Linked DNA regions of Homo sapiens: region 1 is linked to region 2. Evidence: promoter capture Hi-C in human tissues and cell types (Jung and others, 2019). All regions are on one chromosome and are shown on one strand. The core of a region is centred on a gene start or on the middle of the fragment in contact, and the rest is flanking DNA. Distances in the headings are between cores, read along the strand shown. Region 1 holds the start of HOXB5 (homeobox B5). Region 2 holds the start of CDK5RAP3 (CDK5 regulatory subunit associated protein 3).

Region 1 (5,337 bases), core at 1-2,500, 620 kb after region 2:
CGGGGGAGCAGGACCCAGGCGTCCCGGCACCCAGCTCACCACAGCTCCAATCCTCTCTACTCCAGATGCCCACATTCAAGCTCGATTTCTGCACCCCTTTCTACTGCATCCCCCACTTCTGCAGGCAGCCAGTGCGCCCGGCTTTGTCTCTTGCTCGCTCCTAGTGCCTCACCCTTGGCTGGGCTCAGGCGGCCGCTCGCCCCGGGAGGGAGGAGAGCGGTTGCACTTTTGCCCCGGAAAGCTCCTTTTACTGTTCACCCCTTCTTTGCTAGCGACAGTCTCAAAATTTCAGGGGTAAGCAGGACCCTTCCCCACATTATATGAACCCCATCCTTTATCCTAAAGCTGGTTCAGCTGCGCTAATAAAAACCTAAGCCGAAGCTGGAAACAAATTATTAAAAATACCCCCCTCTTAACAGAGAGACCCTTTTTGGCTCTGTCTACGAAGCTATGAGGCCCCTCTTAGATACTTCTCCCCCTTAGAAAAATGAATCTATATTTAGGGTAAAGCCAAGCTCTCCTTGTCCCCCCGATCCCACCCCAAAACGCAGAGAAGGAAAGCCGAGAAGACAAAAAAGAGAGAGAGAATTACCATGGCTGATGTGAAGCTTCCTCATCCAGGGGAATATTTGCGGAGTCTGCCCCTCGGGCGCGGCTGTGGAGGTGGCCATGGGCTCTGGCTGCGCCCGAGCTAGGCTGGGGCTGCTTAGCTGGCTTGCCGCTTCCTCAGGCTCCGAGGACGCGCTGGCCTCGTCTATTTCGGTGAAATTGGCGCTGGAGCTGGCTGAGGTCGCCTGGTCGGAGGGGGACGAAGCAGAGGGCTTGGCGCCGTGGCTGTCGCCGTTGGTGCAGGGCAGGGACTCGGGCGAGGACAGGGAGCAGCTCGAAGCCGCTTGCCTGAAGCGGGGCTCCTGGGCGGGCGCGGGGAAGGCGCGCGAGCTCTCGCCCACCGCCCCAAAGTGGCTGGAGGAGGCCGAGGAGCGGTTGACGCTGAGGTCCATCCCATTGTAATTGTAGCCGTAAGAGCCGGTGTGCATGGCAGCGGGATCCCTGTAAGAGCCGCTCAGAGAGCTGCCACTGCCATAATTTAGCAACTGATAGTCCGGGCCATTTGGATAACGCCCCGAGAAGGAGTTTACAAAGTACGAGCTCATTTGGGTGATTTTGGAGGGCTTGATTTGTGGATCGTGGTCGTTATAACCCTGTGCTTCACGATTTATGATGTATTAATGAATTATAGCGATGCACTGTACTTCGTTTTGCTATGTATGCGGCCAAATATGGGGGGGGGGTTGGAAGGGGGGTGGGGGGCGTTAGGGAATCACGTGCTTTTGTTGACCAGTCGTAAATTCTCGCTGATGACCTCAAGAGGTAATTCATGCTCTATGGTTACAAATAATGACGATCCGAGAATCGTTAGGGCCGATTCAATGCGAGCCTCCGAGAGAGGGGGAAAAAAGGAGAAGGGGGAGAAACAGAGAGAAGGTTGGCTTTGGCCTCTGAGCAGAGCGCGCCACCTCCCGGCGACCGACGGGAGCGCGGGCGTGAGACCGCCATGGCGGCGGGCGGCTGCCTCCCTGCTGGCTCCCTGCAGGCTCCCTGCAGTCGCCGGGAGAGAAAGAAACCCGGCCAAGGCTCAGCCACAGGGTTGAGCCTTTTAGAGCAGGGGTTGGGCTTTTTACCCACTTTCTTGTGGGTGGGGTTAGCCTCTCTATTTGGTTCTTTCTCCCTACATCATCATTGTCGTTATTATTTTAACTTTGGATGAGAAGATCAAAGATAGAGTTGCTTTTCCCTTTCTTGGGCTTTGCAAGTCTCCGAATTGGAGGCGGAAATGGGGGAAGGGTTGGAAGTTGTGTGTGAAAAACAATTATTGCAACGGGTTTTCCCCAGGAGCTTAGTCCGGCCTGCATCCTGGTGGAACTGCTGTTACCGGTCCACAGCGCCCAGGCCGAGCCGGCAGGGCTGGGCGGGAGGCTTGAAAAAGAAGGAGAAGCGTTCACTTCTCCTGGGCCACTTGGAAGTTCGAAATCCCCTTCCGGACCTCCTTGGTGGTCCTTAGCCCAGGCGTGGGGAGTGACAGAGCAGGACAGGGACCCCAGAAACCGAGCACAGCTGGGGCTAAGCGGCCTAGTTGCCGAAAAGACTGCAGCGGCCACCGCGTCTGCTGCTTAGTTTGAGTAGTAACATGTGTCTGAGAGTTTGTAAAGCGGGATCCCTTCCCCTCCTCCTCGGCTATTGCATTCGGAGGCCCCACTACAGGTCCCTCACTCGCAGCTAGGCAGTTTGAGAATTTGCCTGGTGGCAGCCGCCTTCCCGGAAAAGGGGTTCCAAGGACCCGCATGCTTTGCTGAGCACGCTGGGCGGCCAGAGACCGCCGCAGCTGGTCTCCTATTAGGAGGGGACTATTTTCTTTAAAAATAAGAAAGGAAGCGAGAGGGCGGAGGAATAAAGGAAAACAGTGACCGCAGCTTGCCTTCTGGGTGCCGGTGCAAGCAGAGAGAGAATGAGCCATTCTGGGTTGAGAGGATGACACTAAAAGCCCCATCACCTGGCCTCCTGCCCTGGGGTCTCCAAGGAGCAAGGGAAAGTTGTGGCCTTCGGCCTGTGCCTGGCTGGTGGCTTTACATTCCCCTACTTGAGGCTGATCTCCTACTTGAGGCTGATCTGCTACTTGAGGTGGGAAGGGGCACCTGGAGCCTTCAGCTGCAGGGTGAGAGATACCCAGTGGCCCCATTTTTCAGTCTCCAGAGCCACAGGCCAGGAGCGGAGGGCCAAGGCTGGCGAAAAAACCTGGCCATGTGGACGGGCCAAAGACCAGGGGTCGCTGCGAAGGTGAGGACAGAAAAGCGCTGCAGAGGCCCCCAGACTATGGCTCCGTCTCCGCCAGAGAGCTTTAGGGGCCTCAGTGGCTCCCTTAGTGCTGTGTATACACGAGGAAAGGCTAGAGAATGAGAGGGACACAGCACCTCTCCATCCCCCAAGTCTGCACGGGGAGAAGCGGCTGTGAGCCTCAGCACCAGGGAAACGCAGCGCTGGGGCCTGGGCAGGACTGATCGCTCCAGCCTTTATCTCAGCTGTAACTTCCCAGTCGAACAGGGCTCGCTTCGGCGGGCCAGGGCTCTCGCCTTTGCTGAAGAATTCTGGCTCAGGAAAGATGGAGAGGCTGGGGGTTGAGGAGAGAGGAAAAAATGGCAGGGGAGGATTGGAGGTGACCGAGCGTCGAGTTTTCACATCTTTATTATTGTTGTTGTTGTTGTTATTATTATTATTATTATCATCATCATCATCATCATCATCATCGAAGTATTTCACGTCCAGAGCTAAGACAAGACTACAAACACAACACATAGAAAATTAATAAAATAGAACTTTGTTTTCTTCTGAGGCTCCTCTTCTTACTTCTAGGTAGTATGTGCTCCTTCCAGTGGCTTTGGGGAGGGGGTGGGAGAGACGACAGGTCTGGGATCAGGGAGTCTTCAAGGCCCCCGCTGAGGGGACAGCGAATCTACCATTGAACCGTGCACGGGGGACATGGACAAAATGAGACGCGACAGGGACAAGAGCATTTTGCTCTGCTTCCAGGAAACATCAAGTGAGTCCGCTCCTCAGTTCTCACCAGGAAGCCTGATCAGGCTGAGGCGAGTTCCTCGGGAAGGAAGGGCGCGCGGGATGCTGGGTGGGCTCGAGTAGTGAGGCCTCAGAGCACCCGCCGGGAGCTGTGCGGGCGGGGGCGTCCAGGAGAGCGCTGGGCCCCGCCTGTCTGCGCCGGAGAGCAGGTCTCCTGGCTCCCCCACCCGAGAGCCTTCCTTCCCGGGTCTCTCTGACGCCCTCGGCTCCCCACAGGCCTTTCCCCTCGCGTCCTCCCTCCCTTTCCAGCACCTTCACTCGGCCTGTTTTTCTTCCTCCTCCTCGGCACTGAGCTGAGACGCGCTGAGCAGTTTGCTCTCCTTTTTCCACTTCATGCGTCGGTTCTGGAACCATATCTTGATCTGCCTCTCCGTCAGGCACAGGGCGTGCGCGATCTCGATGCGCCGCCGCCGCGTCAGGTAGCGATTGTAGTGAAACTCCTTCTCCAGCTCCAGCGTCTGGTAACGTGTGTATGTCTGGCGGCCTCGCCGGCCGCTGGGCCCAAAGGAGGAACCTGTTACGCAGAGTGGAGATGCTGAGGCCTGCGGTCACCGGGCCCAGGACCCCCTCCCCTAGTCGACCCTCGAACACAGACTCCAGCCAGTACCGGGATGCCCTCTATTCTGCCGGCTCCCTTCCCCCGTTTCGCACTCCTCCAGCGCCCCCTCCAGATTCCCTCCTAGTCTCCTAGGCCTGTGCCGTCTGTCTAGACTCTAGATGGGGGAGGGGAGGAGCAGTTTGAACTCCCACCTGAGCCTGGGGGGAGGGGCTGGTCAGGTGTGTCTCTTCCTAGTTGCATCTTGTCTTTCCCTCCCTTTCCATCCATCTTGTTCCCACCCCCCGTCATCCCCCCAACCCAATGATAAATCCAGGCCGTTAATCCGTAATGACGTAGATCGATCCATAGTCCACATTAACGGCTCCTCACTTTCGAGTCCGGCTAATGGACATCAGTTGGGACTTAAGGCCAACAAATAATCCAACCTGAGACCCCGCGCCTGTTTCTCCCTCTCTCGCTCCGCCTGCTCCCTCTCTCTTCCTTCCCCTTATTCCTCCTCCCTCCTCTGACTACCACCCCTTTCCTGGTGCCTCATCTTGCCCCAGCTCCCCACCCACAGGGAAACACAGTCCCAGACAGACTCAACTCTTTCTCTTCAGCGTCACCCCCTACCCCCTTGCATGACGCACTCCGTTTTTAATGGAGCCGTCTTTGGTTGGGGAACCCTACCAGGGCTGGGAGAGGGGGGTTGGGGGCTCAAAGTAAAGCCAAGCCAGTGACTGCAGGCTCCTGCTCCCTTCCCTGTCCTGGAACCCCGGCTCTGGCCAGGCGCCCCAGGAGAGCACACTTGCTCCCCATGGCTCCCAGTGCGGCTGGGACTTTGCAAACTTTGTAACTCCTGCCTAATAGGGGACACAGCGAGAGACCCCCGGCCGGCGCCCAATCTTCTTCTATCTCCTAACTGAGATGCCCACCCAGCACCCTGTGGGAGATTGGGGCAGGGGGCGCTCACTAGTTCTGTGTCCCGGGGTGGGCGCCCAGGGGAGCCGGGGCGACGGCGACGGGAAGTCTCACTCACTGTTGCACGAATTCATCCGCTGCATCCACGGGTAGACCGGAGTGGAGCACTTCTGCTCTTCTGTCTCGCCGAACACGCTCTTGTCCTGCGCGCAGTCCGACTTCCGCGGCTCGGGGTGGAACGGGGGCTG
Region 2 (5,278 bases), core at 2,477-4,976:
TTTATCACGTAATAAGCAAGCTAACAACAACAATAATGGATGGCAAGGTAGGCTGCCTACACGGTGCCTCGGGGCTCTGTGCTTCCTTGTCCAAAGCTGGTGCAGCCCTGGTATATCCTCCTCACCTCTCTACATGTGCTGCCCCTCTCCCAGGGTCCCATCTGCTAAATCAGCAGAGAACTGAGAGATTCCTGGTCAGAAACCTACCATACCTCTCTCTGCCTCCTTCTAGCTGCTGGGAGCCCCGATGACTAAAGTCTCCTGAAGGAGATAGAGTCGATGCCCTGGATGCCAGACCAATTATGTGCTTATCTACCCACAGACCCTGAAGTTCCCTGTGGCCTTGGAAAAGTGCAGAAACCCGCCAAAGGCCCATGCTCCTACACTCTTTGGGAACACAGAAGCATGTGCCTTTGGCAGGCTCTCCCCCAGAGCCTCTGCAGTCAGCAGAGGCAGGTTCTCTCCCAGAGCCTCTGGCTTTGGGACAGCCTCCCTGGAGTCAGTAGCTGGGCAGAACTGTTCTCAAACATCCTTCTGCTCCACGTGAGTCACCTTGGGGAGCTGTGGGTGGGGCTGAAGTGCTGGTGGTCCCTGCTTCCATCAACTCACCTGGGCTGGGTCTTCCAGACCCACCCTGTCCTGTTCTGCCCAGCCTGTTGGTTCAAGGAAGAGAGATAGATACACCTTGAGGGCAGGGCAGTGCCTTGCTCTTGAGATGTCCCAGACAGCCCCGAGCACATAGTTGGGGCCCAGTTAAGTGTGTGTTTAATCATGGAGGAGCCTGAGCAATTCCTACAGTCTGAGTCAGGCTGACTCAGATGGGAGCCAAATTCCCATGAAAGATCCCTGAAAAGGCCCTTAATTCAGCTCTATGAGCCATTTTCAGAGCAGTTTTTCAATCCGTTCTATAATAATAATGATCATATATGACATATATATATATTTTGAGATGGAGTCTCACTCTGTTGCCCAGGCTGGAGTGCAGTGGCGCAATCTGGGCTCATTGCAACCTCCGCCTCCCAAGTTCAGGTGATTCTTCCGCCGCAGCCTCCCGAGTAGCTGAGTAGCTGGGACTGCAGGCATGCACCACCACGCCGGGATGGTTTTTGTTTTTGTTTGTTTGTTTGTTTTTTGTTTTGTTTTGTTTTTGAGATGGAGTCTCACTCTGTCGCCCAGGCTGGAGTGCGGTGGCGCAATATCGGCTCACTGCAACCTCCGCCTCCCGGGTTCAAGCAGTTCTCCTGCCTCAGCTTCCTGAGTAGCTGGGATTACAGGCGTACGCCACCACGCCCAGCTAATTTTTGTATTTTTAGTAGAGACAGGGTTTCACCATGTTGATCAGGCTGGTCTCAAACTCCTGACCTCGTGATCCACCCGCCTCAGCATCCCAAAGTGCCGAGATTACAGGCGTGAGCCACCGTGCCCAGCGTGTTTTTTGTTTTTTTCAGAGATGGGATTTCACCATGTTGATCAGGCTGGTCTCGAATTCCTGACCTTAGGTGATCCGCCTGTCTCAGCCTCCCAAAAGTGCTGGGATTACAGGCGTGAGCCACCGCGCCTGGCCCATATATGATATTTCATATAGGGAGAGTTTACAAAGCATGAGAAATACAGCCACAGTATGTTGTAAACTGTCATGAGTTACTAGTGTGTTTATTTAAGCCTCTAAACAGAAATACCCTGAGATAGGATAGCTGTTATCTCCATGTGGGGAAACTGTGGCTATCAGATAGGTTATAGAAATGGTCCAAGACCTCACTGGGCAGAATCTAGGTCTTCCTGCTGCTGTATCACACTATGCATTTCAATCAAAAATTTACTAAGCCTCAAGTGTTGTGCTGTGGTGAACAGGAGCTGGGGAAGGAATATTTAGAAATGGCATACCCAGGGCCGGGCGCGGTGGCTCACGCCTGTAATCCCAGCACTTTAGGAGGCTGAAGCGGGAGAATCACGAGGTCAGGAAATCGAGACCATCCTGGCTAACACGGTGAGACCTCGTCTCTACTAAAAATACAAAAAAATTAGCCGGGCGTGGTGGCGGGCGCCTGTAGTCCCAGCTACTGGGGAGGCTGAGGCAGGAGAATGGCGTGAACCCAGGAGGCAGAGCTTGCAGTGAGCCGAGATCGTGTCACTGCACTCCAGCCCGGGCGACAGAGCGTGACTCCGTCTCAAAAAAAAAAAAAAAAAAAAAAAAAAAAGAAAAGGCATACCCAGCGCTGTGAGATCCTGGGGGATCTGGCCTCAGCCTACCCTCCCTCCTTACTCTACCCACTTCTTGGCCAATCTCAGACTCTCCCTTAGCTTCAGCCACCACTCGGACCACAGATTAGCCAGCTTGTGACTCTCCAAGCTGTATCTCCAGCCCCGACAACTCCCTCGAACTCCAAAATTATAGACCCAAGTGCCTTCTGCACACTTTCCATCTGGGGGTCTCCCAGCATTGCCAGACTAGGTTCAAAGCTAGACCCCCTCCTCCCCAACACCTGCTCAGCATCCTGCATCCCTGTCTCAGGTGGTGGTTCCCACCTAATCACCTAGGTGTCATCCTTAGTGTCTCTCTCCTCCACCCAAACAGCCAATCAATTGCCAAGTCCTATACATTTTCCTCCTAAATATTCCTCAGATCCAGCCCTTCCCCTTCCTCCTCATATCTTGTGTCCCAGCTCAGGCTATAATCCCTCGATAACAACCTCCTTCCAGCCTCCTTGTCCCCAGTCTTATCTCCCATGCATCCATCATCCCAGCAGCCTATCTGTACAGGTTCCTCCCTGCCTCAAACCCCTTCTGTGATTCCTCTGTCTGAAGGGATGAAGTCCAAGTTCCTTAATAAGTCTCCCTTTGATATGGCCTTTCCACCCTTACAGCCTCTCCTCTAGCCACTCGCTGCCTCAAACCATCTACGGTATAGAGGTTGGCCTGCCCGCGGAGCCGACTTCATCTTGAAATTCTTCATCATTTTGTAACAAGCAGCTGTGCATTTCCATTTTGCACTGGACCTCACAAATTACGTTGCCCGTCCTGCCTGCCTGTTGTTGCTTGCACCCCTCTTGCAGTTTGTGGCCACCTAAGCTTTGTCTGTGTAGTCTCCTCCACCTAAAACTCCTCTTCCCACATCACCCAGCTATCTTCAGCTCTTCGTTTAGACTCAATGTAGGTGTTCTCTTTGGGACGTCTCACCGACTCTCTTCCTTCCCCTTCCCTGCCCTAATCGCCCAACACGTTGCAGGTGCTCAACCATGTCTATTAGAGAAACTGAATGAGGAGGCAAAGCATGACAAGTGCCACAAGAGACCTGCACACTGCTCTGGATGGTAAAGCGACGCAAGGAGGGAAGAAGGTATTTGCAACGGCCTCCCAGATCGGCGCTAGGACCCCGCCAGCAGACGTCTCAATCTGCGTGGAGAAGACCCAGTGCCCGCCAGGGGAAGCGGCTGCCAGGCTGGGCTCTCGAGCGCCGCCTGTCGCAATCCCACGGCCGCTGCAGCGCACCCCCTCCCGTCCCCTGCCCTGAGCCCGCCTCGCGTCTCCAATTGGCTGTCTCCATTCTCCCGCCCCTCCCGAGCTCAGCCATTCGGAGCCTGGGGTGGGCGGGGCTTGAGGCCTGAGTGGAGCGTAAACCCTGATTGGCTGTACGGAAGGCGGCGACGTGGCCGAAGGATGCCCGTTTGTGTCTAAACGGAGGCTCGGCCACAACGCCACTGGATTGGTGGTAGGGCGGGGCGGGCCACAGTCTCCAGCCTGAAGCGGAAGTGGAGGAAAGATGGAGGTGTGGGGACAGGAGCTGGGTGTGCTGGGGACTGGCCGCGGACCCCTAACCTGTGTCTCCGGTCTCCCTCCGGAAGCGGCTCAACCCAGCCCATCGCTCTGGCCCCGTTCTGGCCCTGCAGGGTGGTGGTTGGGACGTTGAAATGAGCGCGCGAGTGGTACGTCCTCTCTCCGCGCTCACGCCCCCCTCCTCACCGTGTTTCCCGCCAGGACCATCAGCACGTGCCCATCGACATCCAGACCAGCAAGCTGCTCGGTAGGAGGGGGCGCCACCGCGCAGCTGGCTGTCGGGGGGAGGCCTGTGCGTTGCCCCCTGTGTCCAATAGCCGGGAGCTCTGACCCCTGAAAGCCTGAGTCGAGATGCTGACCACTGGCCTCGTTCTATGCCCCATCTGTGGCCAGACCTGCTTCCCTGATAGCAGCGGGAACGAACCATATGTACAGTCTGTTTGACCTGCGTTTTCTCCTTTAATAACATATGTTATCGTATCATTCAGGGACAGGATAAATGACTCGCTTTAAAAACAGTCAACCACTGCCGGGCGCGGTGGCTCATGCCTGTAATCCCAGCACTTTGGGAGGCCGAGGTGGGCGAATCACCTGAGGTCAGGAGTTCGAGACCAGCCTGACCAACATGGAGAAACCTTGTCTCCATGTCTCCATGACTAAAAATACAAAAAAATAAAAATAAAAAGTAGCCGGGCATGGGAGCACATGCCTGTAATCCCAGCTACTCGGGAGGCTGAGGTGGGAGAATTGCTTGAACCCCGGAGGCAGAGGTTGCGGTGAGCAGAGATCTCACTATTGCACTCCAGCCTGGGCAACGAGAGCGAAACTCCATCTCAAAAAGAAGACAAAAAACAGTCAACCACTAAGTGGCACATCTGAATTGGAACTTAAGTCTGTCTGACCCACTGTCCATGCCTTTTGCATTATGCCAGGAAAAAAAAAAAAAACCTCATTTAAAAAGCTTCCACCTCCCCCTTGATTTTAGGAGGAAGAGGGACCTAAGACCCAGTTGCAAATGAAAACCTTTTAGTGTCCAGGCCATCTCCAGGTTGTCTGTATGGGGCTTACATACTTCCTCCCCAGTTCATAGTCAGGGAAGGCCTCTTCATCTGATCACACAGCTCCTGGCATTTTAAAATGCTTATTGGATTCATGGATTTGATGCCAATCTTGTCCTTAAGATGGTGTCTGTTTGACTACCCCAGTCCGTTGCTTCTAGTTCTGTGACATCAACAGAATTTTTCTTTCTGAAAACTTTACAGGAATATAGCAGAGAGAGTATAACTGATACTAGTGTGGGACCCCAGCGTTTGACCGGTTGGCAGAGTTCAAGTTCTGAATTCACCACTCTGTAGTGCCATTTAGTCAGTCCTGCTTGGTGGTCACGGGGGAAGCTTCTTTAGCCTCCCTTCAGATTTGTACTGGCCCTTCAGCCCATGTGCAGTCTTGGTGTGTGAGCTTGTTCTTGGTCATGAAAAGGACCAATAAAATGACCACCATTCAT

Evidence for each region. The method cuts DNA at HindIII sites, captures the fragments that hold promoters and counts their contacts. A contact is called where the count stands out against the background at its distance.
Region 1: a contact is called between the fragment with the promoter of HOXB5 here and the fragment with the promoter of CDK5RAP3 in region 2, in 2 of the 25 tissues and cell types used here (IMR-90 fibroblasts and lymphoblastoid cells).

The regions. Positions count from the first base shown.
Region 1 is chr17:48,592,529-48,597,865 of GRCh38, forward strand. HOXB5 (homeobox B5) reads right to left here and starts at 1,251. Exons shown (of 2, transcript NM_002147.4): 1 at 593-1,251. The coding sequence starts at 1,154. The region is part of intron 1 of HOXB-AS3 (HOXB cluster antisense RNA 3); the gene reads left to right. It overlaps HOXB6 (homeobox B6), which reads right to left. Exons shown (of 4, transcript NM_018952.5): 3 at 5,208-5,337; 4 at 3,223-4,144. The coding sequence ends at 3,885. RefSeq lists a silencer at 875-924 and enhancers at 1,181-1,688, 1,390-1,459, 1,689-2,194, 3,237-3,908, 3,966-4,135 and 1 more. The HindIII fragment of the contact is 8,811 bases long and covers 1-5,337 here.
Region 2 is chr17:47,967,387-47,972,664 of GRCh38, forward strand. CDK5RAP3 (CDK5 regulatory subunit associated protein 3) reads left to right here and starts at 3,727. Exons shown (of 14, transcript NM_176096.3): 1 at 3,727-3,766; 2 at 3,976-4,021. The coding sequence starts at 3,761. RefSeq lists a silencer at 3,378-3,667 and an enhancer at 4,089-4,716. The HindIII fragment of the contact is 4,856 bases long and covers 1-3,902 here.